Linked DNA regions of Homo sapiens: region 1 is linked to region 2. Evidence: promoter capture Hi-C in 16 types of primary human blood cells and fetal thymus (Javierre and others, 2016). All regions are on one chromosome and are shown on one strand. Each heading gives the region's core, a stretch centred on a gene start or on the middle of the fragment in contact. The rest is flanking DNA. Distances are from core to core; before and after follow the strand shown. Region 1 overlaps ABLIM1 (actin binding LIM protein 1). Region 2 holds the start of TRUB1 (TruB pseudouridine synthase family member 1).

Evidence for each region. Contacts are between HindIII fragments. The CHiCAGO score rates a contact against its expected background, and 5 or more counts as called.
Region 1: a contact is called between a fragment that was not itself captured here and the fragment with the promoter of TRUB1 in region 2, in 4 of 17 cell types (naive CD8 T cells, total B cells, total CD8 T cells and 1 more). The highest score is 6.7, in naive CD8 T cells.

Annotation. Positions count from the first base shown.
Region 1 is chr10:114,521,623-114,527,136 of GRCh38, forward strand. All of the region lies in intron 6 of ABLIM1 (actin binding LIM protein 1), which reads right to left. Among named protein-coding and RNA genes, the nearest start is that of AFAP1L2, 120 kb to the left of the region's middle. RefSeq lists enhancers at 5,007-5,126, 5,297-5,514. The HindIII fragment of the contact is 2,440 bases long and covers 3,045-5,484 here.
Region 2 is chr10:114,934,446-114,940,014 of GRCh38, forward strand. It overlaps TRUB1 (TruB pseudouridine synthase family member 1), which reads left to right and starts at 3,750. Exons shown (of 8, transcript NM_139169.5): 1 at 3,750-4,094. The coding sequence starts at 3,809. RefSeq lists an enhancer at 3,582-4,121. The HindIII fragment of the contact is 6,581 bases long and covers 2,211-5,569 here.

The DNA of each region.
Region 1 (5,514 bases), core at 3,015-5,514, 410 kb before region 2:
GAGTAGAAATTTACTCGGTAGTCAACCCCCCTCCTTTCCCCGCTCCTTCTTTCCTTCCTTCCCTCTCCTTTTCCCTCCCATTCATCCATCCTTCTATCCATCCACTCATCCTCTTATTGGGCACCAACCTTCTATCAGATGATGTTTTAGTTTCGGGGATATGATAGTACCTGTCATAAGCATACATTCTTGCAATGAGTGACAGATACTAGACATGGATACAAGCAGATAAGAATTCCAGATAGTCGGGGAACAGTGCCATGAAGAACCTAAAACAGAACCAGGGGAGAGAAGATGGCCTAGGGGTTGGGCAGGTGGAAGCAACTTTAGCTAGGTGATTAGAGGATACCTCTCCAAGTCAAAAGAGGCAGGTTGAATAATGAGAAGGAAGCCAAGATCTGGAGGAAGAATGTGCCAGGCTCAGGGAGCAGTGAAAGCCCAGAGATGGACAGTGTCTGTGCTTGAGGGGCAGAAAGAAGGCTAGCAGGGCTGGAATGAAAGAGGAGGGAAGATGTAGGTAATCAGAAACTTAATCTCAGAGGGCTGCATAAGCCAGGAGAAGATATTTCAACAGATTTTCAAAATTCCAAGGTTTAAAGGCAAAACAAAAACCCAGTCGAACACATGTTTTCCTCATGCTTTAGAACTCTTTTCAAACCACAAAGGAAACCTGGCAATCCACCCCACCCCCCACTTATTCCCTAAACTTCGTTATATAAGGGCCAACATCTTCTTTCATCTGTTGCCAGACCAGATACATTTGGCATCCTAAACAAGTTGCCAAAACAAAGCAGAAAGCTCAGCTTAAACTCTGTTAGAGGATGTTCTAAACTTCACAAAACACAATTCTCTATGTTTTCAAGTATGTTTATTTGGACAAGGTATACGGATATGAGCACAGACATAAGGAACCAGCTGCACAGAACCAAGACAATCTAGTAAAAAATTACTATTCAGCAGTAAGGAAAGATAAAAGCAGTCTTAAGTGTAAACAAGTATTTTTGCTTCATCTAGTGTTTATGAGCAACAAATGGCCTCAGTGTGAACCAGCAATGCTGAGAAGGACACAAACACGTATTTGCTAAAAACATTCCAGGCTTGGCGAATAATAAAGCAGCAGGGTTTGTTTCCTCTTTGATGAAGGTCCCCTCCCGTCAAAGGCTGCACCTTAAGCCTCTGCAGCTTAAGGTACAAGAAAGGCTCACGCTTGCTCATTCCCAGGGCTCTGCTTAGAAGCATGTAGCTAGGCCAGGTGCGGTGGCTCACGCCTGTAATCCCAGCACTTTGGGAGGCTGAAGCGGGTGGATCACTTGAGGTCAGGAGTTGAAGACCAGCCTAGCCAACATGGTGAAACCCCATCTCTACTAAAAACACAAAAAATTAGCCGGGCATGGTGGCACACACCTGTAATCCCAGTTACTCGGAGGGTGAGGCAGGAGAATCGCTTGAACCCAGGAGGTGGAGGTTGCAGTGAGCCAAGATTGCACCACTGCACTCCAGCCTGGGTGACAGAGCAAGACTCCATCTCAAAAAACAAAACAAAACAAAAAAATCCATGGAGCTGGGGTTGGTTTGTGAACCAAAGCAAGAGATTGAGAGGATCTTTGGCTTCTCTGTCTCTCACTACGGCATCTTTACATTCTGCACAGTCTGGAAACTTCCAATTTCAAGACATCTGCCCCATCTGCACCCCCCTTGCCCTGATAACCTGGTTCAGAGAACCAGGTAGGTTCTCTGGGCAGCACCACCTGACTCCCCACAGGACACATAGATCAACAAGGGCCGTTTTTTCACCTCTGATCATAAGCTCTTTCAACTGGCGAGTTTTCTTAAAGAGGTGGTAAATACCTTGCCTTTGGGTCAGACCCTATGGTTAGTGTGCTCTTTATCTTATTGAAACCATGAAGAAGCATTAACCTGTGGGGTTTATAATAAGAGCAGAAATTTAATTTCTGGGCCTTATGAAGGCCCAAATTCTACAACCCACAGACCCACTCTTCCTGCATCCTTCAAAGAGTTTTCTGGTAGCCCCTCAGACATTAAAACCTGCTTAGATGGTGACTGGATTTGTCCTCTTTAAAAAATTACAGAAATATGGACACAGGCTGCAGACATGTGGCTTGCTGACCAAGCTCCTGGGTGGTCTTTCCATAGAAATCATTGACATTCATTTGTCTGTTCATCAATGACTGAGCAAATAGTATGAGCAGGCACTGTGCTATATCCTGGGGGCAAATAGACCTAAAATGCTCACATTTGCTGCACTCAGGGATCTTTGGTCTACTGAATGGGGGGAGAGGGTGAATTTTAATTACGAAGAACTGTTACTTAGAGAGCACATGGTGTGTGTCACATTGGTACCTCCAGGTGGAGAGAAATGCAAGATTTGCTTTGCAATCAAAAGCAGAAACCACAGCTCTCTGATAACATTATGGGCCAGTCCAGGTCTGTCACCAAGAATAGACTTCAATAAGTCAAGGTGTTTCCCTATCTGTTCAGCCAATGCTAAGCACCACTAAGCACTATGCAGTGGTACATCTCATCTGGTTTGGGTGGTGGTGGTAGCTCCTGGAAGTCACGGTGCTCAGTGCAATGTACTATATTCTTGGAGAAACACCAAGAAAAAGCAGCACTCGCAGCTTCATGCATTTTGTAATCTGTAAACCTTTGAGAGCAAACAAGCAGTAGCATTAATGCTAAAGGTGTAAGAAAAATTTTAAACGGAAAAAATCCCAGCCATTGACTTCATCGTTATCTGTAAATTGGAAAAAAGCTGTGATTCTTCAATTGCACTCACAAAACAAGGCCCAATTCCTAAAAAAATCAAAACAGTTTGAGACCCACTGGTACAGATGGCGAAAAGAAAAAAGAAATGAAAGCATTCACTTGCAGATTCTAGAAGAAAAAAAAACTAACAGGCATGGCCAGATTTACTAAAAACCCACATTACAAACAAACAAACAACAACAACAACAAAAAACTCTATATTTACAGAAGGGAAAAGTATGGGTAACTATTTGCTTTATAAAATGGATCACTGTATAAGCTTCTTTTTAAAAAAAGACAAAATAGTATATCCCCAGAATGCACTTTAGAATTCAATTGAAAGAAGTTTGACTACTATACCAATCATAGCACTGTATAAAATAAGTCCCACAAGGGCACAGAAGGAAAAGGGGGCAGAAGAATGTATATCCGCAGCAAGTCCTTGAATCTGATACCCCATTCCCAAGATGTGATTTCAGACAAAACCCAAACAAAATAAAAACCAAATGGTCAGGCAAAAACACCTGTCCTGCCACTGTTCCTTGGACCCCGCCAGGCCTCCCTGGGACTCCAGCCTCCTCTCATAGACCCTTCCCCCTCGTTGGCAGCAGTAGGCCCCAAGACAGGTTTCCCTCTAGCAGTGATTCCCAACCAGGGGCATTTTGCCCACAGGGAATATTTAACAGTGTCTGAAGATATCTCTGGTTCTCACAGCTGGGGAGGGAGTGCTACTGTCGCCTGGTGTGTAGAGATCAAGGATGCTACTAGACATCCCATAGACAGTCCCCTGCAACAAACTATAATCCCATCCAAAATGTCAATAATGCTGAGGTTGAGAAACCCTGTTCTACAGGAGCCAAAATCATGACCATCCCTCCAGAAAGTCAGGTTACAAGAACTGAGTAGTTCACTTTCTGTCCTTTTAGGTGAGCTATTGTTTAGTTGAAGAGAAAAATCTGCAGGCTTCTGTTGTCAGGATATAATATTCCCTGAGCTTACTGGATAAGCCACTGATGCGAGGATTAGACTCACTGACACATGAAAATGCTTAGGCAACCGCCTCGAAAACATTGGTCAAAACATTCTAAGTGTTATAAGGGATGCTTGGCAAGGCCTCACGCTTAGTCTTAAAAAGCCTTCTCAAAAGTAATTTATACCAATGAGCCGTGGCAAATTCACCTATTCTATAAGTACGCAGTGACTCAACAAGCCTTTTGATCCATTTATAGAATGGCAACAATTATATTTTAATGAGTTATTTTCACTTACTTGTCAGAACCTGTTTTGGTAATCTAAATAACTTCACATCCTCTTAACATTCCTTATGAGGCTGTCTGAGAGAAAAACAGGCTCAGTTTTCTTTTAAGTCTCCAATCTCAGCTAAGTGACAAATGAAGCTGCTATAGCGACCACACTCCTGCTGGCTTATGGCCAAACTCACGTTTTCTTTTTTTCTTTTCCAACATCATAAATCTATTTTTTTCACAGATGAAATAACTTTCTGGTCCCATTTCTTCTTTCATGCTAGTATAGCACATTTTAAAACACTTTCCCCCCAAAAAAAGTCTTTACAGTATGATTCGATTAATAACTGGGTTTTTAGGAAAACTATTTTCAATATAAAGGCCAGAATCTCTAGATTTCTTTTACTGCATATCAAAGGTGGAAAGAGAGGCAATTGTCAAGCTCTTTCAACCTAGAGCCGCAATAAAACATGAATAACATCTAAACATTTTGTTTCCTTATTTTCATTTATTGGGTATTTCTTAAAGAAAAAAAAATCTCATAATTTACAGTAATAGCTAAATCTACTCATTCCCACGTGCCACTTCCACCACCAAATCCCCCAAACAGGACTCAAATGTAAATTTCACAGAGCTCTACAAACCACAGACAAAACAAAACAACCCCAAAGTCTGAAAACCACAGTCTCCTTTCAATCTTGCGGGTAGCAGCCTAAAAAAACATAAGCCTTGTTTAAAAGGTCAACGCACTACACTTCTCAGTGAAATAAATAACCAGCCTTTCCTGCCCTTCAGTCTAGTTCTGTATCGATGAACAAAAGCTCCTGTCGTTTCTTTTGTATCATCAGGAAAACAAAAAGTTTACATAAATGTATGTCAGGGCAATAAAAGTGACTTCTGTCGCCAGCATCCAGCCACCACATTTGGAGGATCCGAGCGGCCTCCGACCTCACGAAGGAAGCCAGAAATCTCACATCTGCCACGCAAAGCAAAGGACATAGGTCACCTTGTGCAATGTCCGCTTTACCTCAGGCCAGGGTTCCTTTTCTTCTAATTCTGTTCCTTGGCTGTGCTGAGCAGAGAACTCCTCCAGGCTTCAAGTTCAGAACACGGCCAAGAGGCTTTGTAGATGCCAGACCTCAGCCCGACAGACTGAGGCTCCCACCTGCCTGGGTTACATATCAGGCTTCTCTCCGAAGCTCGGCTAAGGCAACGTGCATCCCTCTAGAGACGCACTCCGGAAACCAGCCCCGTGTGCGGCGGGCAGGCACGCTCTCTCACGCCTCCTCTCCTCGCTTTACTTACTAGTTCAACACACCAGCAACCACAATGGGCCAGTCCATGTTCCCAAAAAAGGAGGGGGAGTAGATTTACTTTCTTTCTTTTTTTAAATGCAGGTAGGAAAGTACCATTTCTTTGCATTCACTCACTATTGTCTGCATGTGAAACCGACAGTGATTGTCCCTGAGGCATAAGCTTGTACTGAAACGAGATTCTTAGGCTT
Region 2 (5,569 bases), core at 2,500-4,999:
TACTTTGGGAGGCTGAGGCAGGCAGATCACCTGAGGTCAGGAGTTCAAGACCAGCCTGGCCAACATGGTGAAACCCCATCTGTCTCTACTAAAAATACCAAAAAATTAGCCAAGTGTGGTGGCAGGCACCTGTAATTCCAGCTACTTGGGAGGCTGAGGCAGGATAATTGCTTGAACTCGGGAGGTGGAGGTTGCAGTGAGCAGAGACTGTGCCATTGCACTCCAGCCTGGGCAACAAGAACAAAACTCCGTCTCAAAAAAACAAAACAAAACAAAACAAAACAACCCAGTACTTATTGAGTGCTATGTCTGACACTATTCTAGGCCCTGGAGATATAGCAATGAATAAAACATTCCTGTCTGCATGAAGCTGATATTCTGATAGAAGGCATCAGACATTAAACAAAATTAGTAAAATATGTGGTACGTATTAGTCCATCTATGTTACTATAAAAGAATATCTGAGACTGGGTAATTTATAAAGAAAAGAAGCTTAATTGGCTCACAGTTCTGCAGGTTGTAGAGGAAGCATGGTGTGGGCATCTAATTCTGGTGAGGCCCTCAGGAAGCTTCCAATCATAGCAGGTGAATGGGAAGCAGGCACGTCATGTGGCTGAGAGTAGGAGCAAGAGAGCAAGGGCAGGGAGGTCCCAGACTCTTAAACAACCAGCTCTCACATGAACTAACTGAGTGAGAACTCATTTGTCACCAAGGGGTTGGTGCTAAACCATTCACGAGGGGTCCACTCCTGTGACCCAATCACCTACCACCAGGCCCAACCTCCAACACTGGGAGCTAAACCATTCACGAGGGGTCCACTCCTGTGACCCAATCACCTACCACCAGGCCCAACCTCCAACACTGGGAGCTAAACCATTCACGAGGGGTCCACTCCTGTGACCCAATCACCTACCACCAGGCCCAACCTCCAACACTGGGAGCTAAACCATTCACGAGGGGTCCACTCCTGTGACCCAATCACCTACCACCAGGCCCAACCTCCAACACTGGGAGCTAAACCATTCACGAGGGGTCCACTCCTGTGACCCAATCACCTACCACCAGGCCCAACCTCCAACACTGGGAGCTAAACCATTCACGAGGGGTCCACTCCTGTGATCCAATCACCTACCACCAGGCCCAACCTCCAACACTGGGAGCTAAACCATTCACGAGGGGTCCACTCCTGTGATCCAATCACCTACCACCAGGCCCAACCTCCAACACTGGGAGCTAAACCATTCATGAGGGGTCCACTCCTGTGATCCAATCACCTACCACCAGGCCCAACCTCCAACACTGGGAGCTAAACCATTCATGAGGGGTCCACTCCTGTGATCCAATCACCTACCACCAGGCCCAACCTCCAACACTGGGAATCACGTTTCAACATGAGATTTGGAGGGAACCAACATCCGAATCATTTTCATGGTATGTCAGGTGAGATGTGCCATGGAAAAAAATAAAGCCAGAAAGTTAGCTAGGAAAGTGCCATGGTAGAGGGATAGAAAGAGGGAGGTATTATGTTCTGTAGGTGGTCAGGAGTGACTTCATCCAGAAGATTTTTGGAATTGGATCAAAATAGGATGGTTTAAAACAAGGATGTGGAATGAAGAGTTAGAATAAAAGGCCTGTTAGAAACAGGAAAGAGGAATAAAGACACAAGTGGGCCAGGCGTGATGGCTCGTGCCTGTAATCCCAGCACTTTGGGAGGCCGAGGCAGGCGGATCACCTGAGGTTGGGAGTTCATGACCAGCCTGACCAACATGGAGAAACCCCGTCCCTACTAAAAATACAAAATTAGCTGGGCATGGTGCCACATGCCTGTAATCCCACCTACTCAGGAGTCTGAGGCAGGAGAATCATTTGAACCCGGGAGGCGGAGGTTGCAGTGAGCTGAGATTGTGCCACTGCACTCCAGCCTGGGCAACAAGAGTGAAACTCTGTCTCAAAAAAAAAAAAAAAAAAAAAAAAGACACAAGTGAGTAGCATAAAAGAAGGATGTGCAGCTAGAGACAGAGAACTTTCTAGGTTCTGAATAGTGTGTCAGTGTATTTCTGATAAATCTTCTCCCCCTGTGCCCCCAAGCTGGTATGAATCAGTTTTCTGTTGACCAAAGAGCCCAAACTCATACATGTATTGGAGCAAAAAAAACCTGTGAATTCAAGGCCTGCCCAATGTGGGAGATGTTGATTACCTTAGAAAAACAAAGCTTGGTGCTTCTGATCCCAAGAATGCCGATATAATAGCAGAGTAGCATTAATTTTGTTGTGTCCTAGCATCCCAGAAATCAAACATGCAAGAAATATACATTTCTTCATTTTCTTTAAATCAGATTAACTCTGGTCCTACACTGGGCTGATGGAAAATTCAAATATAAGCATCATATGTTACCCCTAGTTCTGTTCTCCCTCTGCATCCCTCACCCCCAGAGCCACAAGAGAAATAGGGAGGCTTGCTGATGTCCGGACAATTGGGAAAAGGCCTCTAATCTCCAAGTGCCTTGGAGTCATCCAAGTCATCATTGATCAAGCCTTGCAACCTTCCCTGCAAGTCCCTGGCTCTCTGCTTCCATGGCACAAGAATAGAGAACTCTTTCCTGAGGCTAATGGACACCATGCTCCTTTGGGTGCAGTCATCCCTTCTGAAGTCACAACATCTTTGTGGAAAAATTAACATCTTGAAGCAGGGCCAGGTGTCCACTAATCCTGTGATATGCCAATCTTTTCAGTTAGCTTAGGCTTTTATAATAGACCACAAGAGTAAGTGACTTCCTTCTAGGAGTTTCAGCTTTCCACCCTGAAAAAACTCCCTCAAAGATTTTTTTTTCCTTTTAATAAATTGTTCTGCCATGTGTCTGTTGCACGAATGGGTGCAAGTTCAAATGGGACCCCATAACTGGTGATTGTGAGCAGCTAAGGGGCATCACTAAAATACTAGATATTAAAGTCCAAGAGTATGATGAGGACAAAGAGTGGTTGTAAAGAAACCTAAAAAACAATGAGGGCAAACTTTATCTGTCTCACAATAGTTATGATAGCATTTAATGTTTCTGGTGCAGAAGTAATTTTTCTCCACTCTGCCTTGTGCTGGAATCAAAACAATATTCCTCAATCTTGTTAGGGAGTGAATAACTTTTAGGGAGAAGGTCTCAAATGGGAAGTGGTTTAAAGTTTATGAATTGCAAGAATACCTTTTGATATCTAAACAAAGTGTACTAAGGAATTCAACCCACAGAAGAGCTGATATTCAAAATCAGAATTATTAAAAATTGTAGTGGGGTCAGTGGGGGTTTGGGGAGGGTGAACAGGAGTGCATGAAGAGCATCAAAATAAGCACAAGTGATTTACCATTGGCTTGGTTTCTTCGGGGAATTTGAAGAATTCATACTTATTTATACGTTTTCAAATATTTATTTAAGTGCCTACAACATGTGAGGCATTTGGGAATGTCTCAGTTAACGTGGTACATAAGTTCCTTGCTCTAATAGAGCTCACATTTGGATGTCTTCTAATTCTGAACCTGAATGTAAGAGCACAATACAATCAATGAAGCAGTGAGCCCAGGAAGCCATGGATCTTCACAAGCCTCAGGAAAAGTCAACATTTAAAATTTTCTATTTAAAGTCCAAGGGCACAGCAAGCTCTTGGTCTATATGGGAAGGCCATGGACTACAATTCCCACAAGTCCGTGCGACCTCTCCGTTCTGCGCAGCTTCGCGGTATGAGGAAGAGGGTCCTGTCAGGCGCACTCTTGTTGCATCATCAGCGTGCACCTCCACGATGAAACAGGTCTGGGCTACAAAAGTATGGCCGCTTCTGAGGCGGCGGTGGTGTCTTCGCCGTCTTTGAAAACAGACACATCCCCTGTCCTTGAAACTGCAGGAACGGTCGCAGCAATGGCTGCGACCCCGTCAGCAAGGGCTGCAGCCGCGGTGGTTGCGGCCGCGGCCAGGACCGGATCCGAAGCCAGGGTCTCCAAGGCCGCTTTGGCTACCAAGCTGCTGTCCTTGAGCGGCGTGTTCGCCGTGCACAAGCCCAAAGGGCCCACTTCAGCCGAGCTGCTGAATCGGTTGAAGGAGAAGCTGCTGGCAGGTACTGCAGCCCGGGTGGGGACCAGGCTGAGGCGGTCGCTGCGAGAGGGGAAGCACATTAGGCTTTTTGCGACGCTCGTGATTCAAGAGACAAAAGGAGGGGAAAGGGAGACTGACCATTGAATTAGCTCTGGACAGGAATCTCGGGCATCTCGGGCTTGGACTTGCCCTGGCACGAACTCTTGTAGCCTACTTGGCAGTTGTAGTTCTCAACGGGAGGAAAAAAATCCCGTACTTACACAATAAAACCCTGCCCTTGGGCGTGCAGACCTGTTTTCTGTAATCTGATCGATCCCTCAGGAGGCTTTTGTTGGGTTCATGTGGATGAACCCCAAAAGGAAGTACTGGTTCTGCACCCCTAAAGTTGCATTCCTCAAAATGTATTGGAAATGCAGATATACTTCGTTAACCAAGACTTAATATAGTCGTTTTCACATTTTAATGGGCCTAACAATTACTTAGAGTCTCTTGTACAAATACAGATTCCTAATCCCTGCCCTGTCCGAGATTGTGATTCGGAGAGTTCGGGGTATTTTTAGGAAACTGCAATTCTAAATAGTTGCTCCAGGTGATTCCAGTGTAAGTAGTTTATGGACCACATTTGAGGAACACTAAATATAACTTGGCCACTAAGCTGAGAGTGTTCATTTTATTGATTCGTTTATTCACGTACACTGGGAAAATAGTAGAAAAGCCTAGAGAATCACCCCGTTAATCAGCTCGGATGATTTCACACATAAAGCATCCAGGATCCTTAAGTTCATTGGACATATACAATAAGCCAGGTCTGTGCTAGCCTATAGAGACTTGAAGATGAAAGATAACTCTCTTACCTTAACTGAGCTGATAGCCTAGTAATTTCTGCACCTTGTGGTGGTAAAACTAGTTAGTTAGGTTATTCAAGGCCCTCCAGAGTTTGGCCGTATTCTGTCTCGCCATTAAACCAGTAACAGGGACTTTCTTACATTGTTTAGTGTCCCATGGAAAACTTTACACTTTAAAAAAATGCAAAAACAAATTATTCTGATGGGAATTATAACTGACAGTACAGATTTAAGTGTTTATGGGCAAATAGGTACACTCCTGCAGATGTTTAATTCCAGTATCACGACTACTTATTCTTTTATTAAAGTTTTGCTTTGTTGCCTGAAAGTATGGGTCATACAGAGGACGTCAAAGTGAGGAATTGCATCAAGGATATGTATTGTGGTATCATCATAGTTTTTTAGTTTTCCTTCATAGAACTGCTGCTTTCCTGATTTGTTAGCTAAACTCTGGGTTTCTTTTCTTTTTTTTTTTTTTTTATCCTTAAGGTAATGATTACCATTCTTTCAGACAAGTTTCTGACAAAGCCATATTCTGGCCTTCTGGCTAATCTGCCTCTAAGAACTGAAGTTTCTTGTTGAATCTTGGTTAAAATGTTTCAAGGCTCTTGCTAGGCTAGAACCTTTAGCTAGAGACATTCTCATTATCCTC